Linked DNA regions of Homo sapiens: region 1 is linked to region 2. Evidence: promoter capture Hi-C in human tissues and cell types (Jung and others, 2019). All regions are on one chromosome and are shown on one strand. The core of a region is centred on a gene start or on the middle of the fragment in contact, and the rest is flanking DNA. Distances in the headings are between cores, read along the strand shown.

Evidence for each region. The method cuts DNA at HindIII sites, captures the fragments that hold promoters and counts their contacts. A contact is called where the count stands out against the background at its distance.
Region 1: a contact is called between a fragment that was not itself captured here and the fragment with the promoter of OR4C46 in region 2, in 1 of the 25 tissues and cell types used here (thymus).

Annotation. Positions count from the first base shown.
Region 1 is chr11:54,664,738-54,668,634 of GRCh38, reverse strand. It overlaps the pseudogene OR4A2P. Among named protein-coding and RNA genes, the nearest start is that of OR4A5, 40 kb to the left of the region's middle. The HindIII fragment of the contact is 3,797 bases long and covers 1-3,262 here.
Region 2 is chr11:54,602,225-54,606,713 of GRCh38, reverse strand. It overlaps OR4C46 (olfactory receptor family 4 subfamily C member 46), which reads left to right and starts at 2,716. Exons shown (of 1, transcript NM_001004703.1): 1 at 2,716-3,645. The coding sequence starts at 2,716. The coding sequence ends at 3,645. The HindIII fragment of the contact is 14,998 bases long and covers 1-4,489 here.

The DNA of each region.
Region 1 (3,897 bases), core at 115-2,614, 63 kb before region 2:
ATTAATGTGGTCTGTATTTGTGTGGGGAGGAGTAAATGAAATTTTTATGTCTTATTTCTTAATTCATTCTTCTGAAATCTGTAATGAGCACTATTAATTCCAAAAAGGGATTAACTTTATTTAAAAGAAAAACATGAGAAAAACTTTCATAAACTTAAATAAATTTATAGTATTAATAACATAAATTTATCATCTCGAGAGCCATTCTACAAACAAAAAGTGAACATATATTTTTCCAATAAATTATTAAAATTTTCTAAATATATTTTGATTATTGCAAGTATTCATGTAATAAATGATTTTCACTGCATACTAGTTATTAAACCTGAGGAAAATTTCACTGCCATTAAATAATCACAAATGGCTTTCCTGGAGGGAGCAACTCTTCACTGAAAATAGATGATACATTTGTCTGCCACCTCATTTTCTTTTTCTAGTCCAGAGCTTCTTCATAGCATTTTTCATCTCTGCATTTCTTAAAGTATAGATTAGAGGGTTCAACATAGGTGTGATAACAGTGTAAAACACAGTCAAGGATTTATCAATGGGTAAGGTCAAAGGAGGTCTCACATACATGAAAATACAAGGGACAAAGAAGAGGATCACCACAGTGATATGGGAGCCACAGGTGGATAAGGCTTTGTGCCTCCCTTCCTGACTAAGATTCTTCAGGGAGTGCAGAATGACCCCATAGGAGAAGAGTAAGAGCATAAAGATGACCACACAGATTGCCCCATCATTGGCAACCACAGTGAGGCCAGTAACATAGGTGTCAGTGCAGGCAAGTTTTAATAAAGGGTACATGTCACAGATGAAATGGTCAATGACATTGGGGCCACAGAAGGGAAGGTTGTAAACAAAAAGAAGTTGAACTACAGCATGCAAGAAACCTCCAGCCCAGGCCAACAGCAGCAGTAGAATGCACACCCGTTGGTTCATGATGGTCAAATAATGCAGGGGTTTGCAGATGGTCACGTAGCCATCATAGGCCATGACAACAAGGAGTAAAATCTCAGCACCCCCAAATAGGTGTCCTATAAAAATCTGGGTAATCAAGCTTGGAACGAAATGGTTTTCTTCTCATAGAGTAAGTCTATAATCATATTTGGGGTAACTGTAGTAGAATGAACAGCATCCATAAATGATAAGTAGCCAAGGAAGAAGTACATGGGGCATCCAAAGTTGGGCTGACCACCACAGTCACAACAATGAATATGTTGCCTACCATTGTCACAACGTAGATGAGCAAGAACACAAGAAATAATATTTTCTGTCCCTGGGGGCTCTGAGTGAGCCCCACAAGGACAAACTCAGTCACATTTTTCCTTTGCTCCATATGCCTTTCTGTATGTCCTTATTCCAGTTGAACACAGGACAAAATTACTTAAAAATATAATTGTTACTAGTAGCTTCATTAAATTTTAGGATAATTTGTTTATTCATTCAACAAATAGGTGTTATGAGTTATTATGTTCCAGAATTGCAAGACATTATAAAAATATAAGGCTGATTAAAGCATGGTCCCCAACCTCAGCAATCTTACAAATTAATTGAGAGAGAAATAAGTAATTTGGGATGTATATGGGAAAAGGACAGTTTATTAAATAAAAGAGTTTGCCAAAACTAGTTTTACATCTGGAAGATCATAAAATTATACATATAGCTAATACCATAAACAAAAATAAATACAAATGAATTAAAGATTTAATATAAAACTAAAGCTAGATTTTCTTTATATTTACTTTCCAGTTAATAAAGGAGATGACTTTCTACATTCTCTGGATGGGAGAATCTTAAAAATTGAAATCCAAAATAAACATATTTGACAATTTCAAAATTGTTTAAGAATTTGGGAAAATAATACCATTTAAAAATATTTATAATTTTGAGGGCACAGAGTTAATATTTAAAATAGAAAGAGTGCTCTAAGCAATTAATAAATAAGAGACAAACCAATAGCAAACTGGGCAAATGATAGAAACCAGCAATTTAAAAAGAAACAGTACATTAACGTGGCCAAATATAATAGTGTGCTGAAGTTCACCTATAAATAGAAAAATACAAAATATAAAACAAATATCACCTTATATTCATGAAACTGACAAAAACGTTTTAAAAGTGATAGTAGCTATAGCTAGCAAAAATAAAAAAGGGTATTTTCTTGCACTGATAGGGAAAATATGGATTTTATAATATTTTTGGAACAAAAGTTAGCAATCTCTAATGAAAGTAACAATATCTTTCAACACAACTGCTCCCTTCAAAAGCTACCCCATAGAAATTAGAGCCCTAGAACATAAGGACAGATGCATGGCATGTTTTTGTGACATTATTTATAATGGCACTAAACAAACAAAAAATATGGAATACAGATATTTAAAACAATTAATTGCAGCCATTTCAGTATAATAATATGATTCAGCAAACAAAATAAAAATACTATACATGTATCCATTTATAAGTGTTTGCATATGACTATATGAGCATGGGAAAATAACGAAGGATATATGTTTTTTGTTGTAAGCAGGGTTTACATTTGCATTGGTGATGTGGGGGAGAGGAGAGAAGTTGTGTGTGAAAGAATAAAACTAACGAAGAGGAGAGGAAGGAAGGAAAGAAGGAAGGAAGATGGAGGAAGATGGAATAAAAGAGGGAGGGAAAGAAATAGGGGAGAAGGAAGGGAGGGAGGGAGGGAAGAGAGAGTTAGAGGAAAAGAAGGCTTCACACACACACACACACACAAAACTATATCATACGTAGTGACAATATTCACTAGCCCAGCTATCTCCTAAAATAATCCTACTAATGACAACTAATCGCTAAGTCTCTGTTGACATTACTTCAATCTAACCTGATAAATAATGTCCCATCTGTTTTTCAAATACACAGATTGTCTGTGTTGCTAACAATGGCCAACCTCTCTAGAGGTTGCACTAGATTCCGTGCTCTTTACCACTCTTAAGAACAGTGTTCCTTCAATTTTCTCCATTTCGAATGTCAACAATTTTCCTCCCTATATTGCATCCTTCTTCCAGCATATTTGTATGATCTATCCCCACGTTTAAAAATATATTTATACCCCTGGACAGCATATCTCTTTCAAGCAACCACCCCATCTTGATTCTCTGTTATTCTTTCTAAATAACACTTTCACTTTACTAAATCAAGTGGTCAATTTCAATACTCTTCTTACTTGACCTATCATTCCTATGAATTGAAGTAACACCTTGCTTACTTTAGTCTTACCTTGGGTTCTTGAAAGTCACTCATTCCACTTCTACAGATGCTATATCATCTAATTTTTGGCATATTAATCAATGCATAGAGAACACACTGCTTGATCCTATAAAGAGATTTACAAATACCTGCCCATTAAAATATCCCCCAAATGGTTACATTTGAAATTAGTTTCTAAGAACACTGATGTAGAGAAAGTAAATTTTTTCTGTTATTTAATGTTGAAATATCCAAAAAAGTATTACAGAATTGAGTCAATTCACATAAAGTTTAGCAATCATGAAGATCCACTAATGTGGTTTATTATCAGAATCACTTAGAGAACTATTAAAAGACAGAATTCCCACATCATCAGTGTTACTGCATAATGTAAAGCCTAGTGCAGAATCTCACACATAAATACCTTCCTGGGTATCTGCATAAGAAGACAGTAATTCATTCCGGGTTCTGATGATGGTACCTTCCCTCTTGTCCTAAAAAAATAACAGCTGTGTACACTGACACCATCTGTGTGAACACAGAGAGTAAAACAACACATGAATCATCACTGGACCTTGAAATGCTTCCATGTGATCAACGTTTTCCATGCTTGTTGAAAGTTTGATTTATATCAGTCTTTCAGGGGGAAAAAAGGTTACCTTTTAACTTATTGAGATTTTC
Region 2 (4,489 bases), core at 1,467-3,966:
AAGGACATAAATATGAATACTAAATTGCATAAATCATCAGCTGTTTAGTCCAAGCACTAACATGAAGACCCCTTCCTGGGATCAACAGCTATGGACAGTATGAGTCACTGTGGCTTCTTCAAGAGTAATGTTGGAGATTATTCTTCCTGAGGTTATTGCATGGTCAATGATGCTCTGTTTATTGCTCTAATGATCACTTCTTATGATCCCTTAGCTGTGTACACACCTGTAAAAGTAAAGAAAGTCCTATGTGCATCCACAGCACTGTGGTAAACATTTTCTTATATGTTCCCTCAATCAATTCTCATAACAGCCTGTAAGATGATATTGTTATTCTCACTTTATAGATGAGGAAACAAAGATGAAAGGTGGCAAGAAACATGCCCTGGCTTAAAAAAGTTGCAGGTGGAAAAACAATGATTCTAATCACATATATTTTTAATTCTAAATCTAATATACTTGGCCACTGTAGTAGTTATTTTCTTTTCTTTTTCTTTTTTTTTTTTTTTCTGAGACGGACTCTCGCTCTGTTGCCCAGGCTGGAGTGCAGTGGCCTGATCTCGGCTCACTGCAAGCTCTGCCTCCCGAGTTCATGCCATTCTCCTACCTCAGCCTCCCAAGTAGCTGGGACCACAAGTGCCCGCCACCATGCACAGCTAATTTTTTGTTGCTTTTTTTTTTTTTTTGAGACAGAGTTTCACTCTGTCGCCCAGGCTGGAGTGCAGTGGCATGATCTTGGCTCACTGCAATCTCCGCCTCCTGGGTTCACGCCATTCTCCTGCCTCAGCCTCCCGAATAGCTGGGACTACAGGCACCTGCCACCACACCAGGCTAATTTTTTGTATTTTTAGTAGAGACCGAGTTTCACCATGTTAGCCAGGGTTGTCTCGATCTCCTGACCTCGTTATCCTCCCGCCTCGGCCTCCCAAAGTGCTGGACTTATAGGCGTGAGCCACCACGCCCGGCCAGTAGTCATTTTCAACATTTTGTTCAAGAGTCTGGGGGCCCACGACTTGGTGGGGTGGGGGTGTTGAGGAAAGAGCTGGGACTAGGGGAGAAGCTAAGATAGATGTACCTTCAATGATTCAATACCACATTTTTCTTAATATTTGAACTCAAAGATGTCACTGTGTTGTGGGTGGGGAGGGGGGATACGGCTAATGAAATTGCTCCATACAAATTGCCTCTGAAGTAGTATTAAAGTAAGTATAATCATAATGGTCATATCAAAAGGAGATTATTAGTTCAACATTGTTTATTATAACATAACAACATAGGGCATGAGCTCAGAATTTGGAGAGAAAAAATTAACTAGTATAATGTGACTAATCTTGACTCTGTCCTTTATTAAACTGCTTGATCTTGGATGGGATCTTCAACTTCCCTATGCTTCTACTTCCTAATATGTAAAATAAGTATAAAAATGATAGTACTATTTTCTGGGTTTATTTTGTGATTGCCTGCAAAAAAACATTTAGAAGACACTAGTGCTCAGTATGTTTTAGTTAATATTATCAATATTATGAGTGTTATAATGTTAATATAAATAATATTACATTATTGTATAATATAAATATCATTGTGTTAACATAACTATTAACATTAATCACTAATATTGCTGCCTTATCTGAAAATTTGATGAAATAATACTGGTCACCTAGGATGTTATAAGTGTTCACTGGAATCATGTGTGCAAAGCACTTACTACTATGGCTTTTGCAAGACAATTAATTATTAAAGGGCATATAATATTAGTTATTATAAAGTTAATTAGATTTAGACAATAAGCATTATGAATTATTTTAGTAGCTCTTATATCCTTTTTTTATACTTCTTTCTGTCTCTCTCTGTCACTCTCTGTCACCCAGGCTGGAGTGCAGTGGTGTGATCTTGGCCTCACTGTAATTTCTGCCTCCTGAGTTCAAGTAATTCCCCTGCCTGAGCCTCCCAAATAGCTGGGAATACAGGCAAGCACCATCACGCCTGGTTAACTTTTTGTATTTTAGTAGAGATGGGGTTTCACCATGTTGGCCAGGATGGTCTCGATTTCCTGACCTCGTAATCCACCCGCCTAGGCCTCCTAAAGTGCTGGGATTACAGGTGTGAGCCACCGGCCCAGCCACCCAGTTACTTCTTATGTCAAGTACTCTAAATATTCTGCCCACTGGGGTTCCTTTCTCTGGCTAACACCTGCTTTGCAGAACCTCAGCCCACTTCATCCAAGACATACAAAGACTTGTACTAGTGGGATACTCCAAGATTCCTACTCCTCAAATTCCTCTTCATCTTCCCACTCATATTGACAGTAACCTACCAATGTTCCCCATTTCCTAAAGAATAAATGGCAAATTCCTTAGCTTTACACCATGGCCTTTAAATTCATTGTCAATCTCCCTTTTCAGGTTTAGCTGCTACCGTGTATCCAATCTACTACTTCAAATTGAGCTCTTAGGCCTCCCAGATGATTGAGTATACACACATGACATCCTGACTTTGTTCACAAGAGTTTCTAATGTCGATACTCTTCACAGAGTCTTCACCAAGTAATCTTCAAGAACTGAGAAACTTTATTAACATCTCAAGAAAAACCTTATAGGAATTTACAGTTTAATAAAATTCAAGCATTTATTATTAAAATGGAGATATGTAATAAATTCAAAGTTGTATTAATAAAAAATTTTTACAGGTAATGCAATTAATCATCATGAGAAATACATGGAGAATAGGAATAACATGACAGAGTTTGTTTTGCTGGGGCTTACAGAGAATCCAAAGATGCAGAAAATCATATTTGTTGTGTTTTTTGTCATCTATATCATCACTGTGGTGGGATATGTGCTCATTGTGGTCACCATCACTGCCAGCCCATCACTGGGGTCCCCCATGTACCTTTCCCTGGCCTATCTCTCCTTTATTGATGCCTGCTATTCCTCTGTCAATACCCCTAACCTGATCACACATTCACTCTATGGAAAGAAGGCCATCCTATTCAATGGATGCATGACTCAAGTCTTTGGAGAACATTTCTTCGGAGGTGCAGAGGGCATCCTACTTACTGTGATGGCCTATGACCACTATGTGGCCATCTGCAAGCCCTTGCACTATATGACTATCATGAACCAGTGTGTGTGTGCCCTGCTAATGGGAGTGGTGTGGATGGGAGGCTTTCTTCATGCAACCATACAGATCCTCTTCATCTTCCAATTACCTTTCTGTGGTCCTAATGTCATAGATCACTTTATGTGTGATCTGAACCCTTTGCTCAACCTCGCCTGCACTGACACCCATATGCTGGAACTCTTCATTGCTGCCAACAGTGGATTCATCTGCTTGTTAAACTTTGCCCTCCTGCTGGTCTCCTATGTGGTCATCTTGTGCTCCCTAAGGACTCATAGCTTGGAGGCAAGGCACAAAGCCCTCTCCACCTGTGTCTCCCACATCACGGTTGTCATCTTATTCTTTGTGCCCTGCATATTTGTGTACATGAGACCTGCAGCTACTTTACCTATTGATAAAGCAGTTGCTATATTCTACACTATGATAACTCCTATGTTAAACCCCTTAATCTATACCTTGAAGAATGCCCAGATGAAAAATGCCATCAGGAAATTGTGTAGTAGAAAGGACATTTCAGGTGACAAATAAATGTAACTAGAGCTCAACATTGATTCAATTTAGTCATGTCCTTTTAGGGACATGGATGAAGCTGGAAATCATCATTCTCAGCTAACTATCACAAGAACAAAAAACCAAACACCGCATGTTCTCACTCATAGTTTGGAATAGAACAATGAGAACACATGGACACAGGAAGGGGAACATCACACACTGGGGCCTGTTGTGGGGTGGGGGAGGGGGGAGGGATAGCATTAGGAGATATACCTAATGTTAAATGACAAGTTAATGGGTGCAGCACACCAACATGGCACATGTATACATATGTAACTAACCTGCGTGTTGTGCATATGTACCCTAAAACTTAAAGTATAATAAAAAAAAAAGAAAAAGTCAGAAGGACATTTTGGATAATTGCAGTGGGGCAAATTGATTGGATGAAGAAAACATTCACCATATGATTCATAGATTCTGCATTGAGGGGTATAGAAATGGTTCAAGGAAAGAGAGAAAACAACCGAGGACAACTCTGCATATTTGGGAAATTCTACCAAGTTGGGGCTTAGTTTTACTAGTTTCATCCTGTATATGGATTCATAGGCTTTCCTCTCACAAATAAAAGAAATAATAGCATATATTGGTATCTAGCGGTAATATCTGTAACACTTCAAAGAGGTAAGCACTACTATTATCTTCATTTTACAAGTTAGGAAGCTTACAGGAAGGAGAAGATATCAAAATAGATATGTTGATGAGCTAGTAACCAAACTATAACTGATTTTCCAGACCATACTCTTAACTGCTATGATATTCTGCCACAGAGTGATAATGAAAATGTCAGTTAATTATACTACTTACCATTTTGGGACCACAG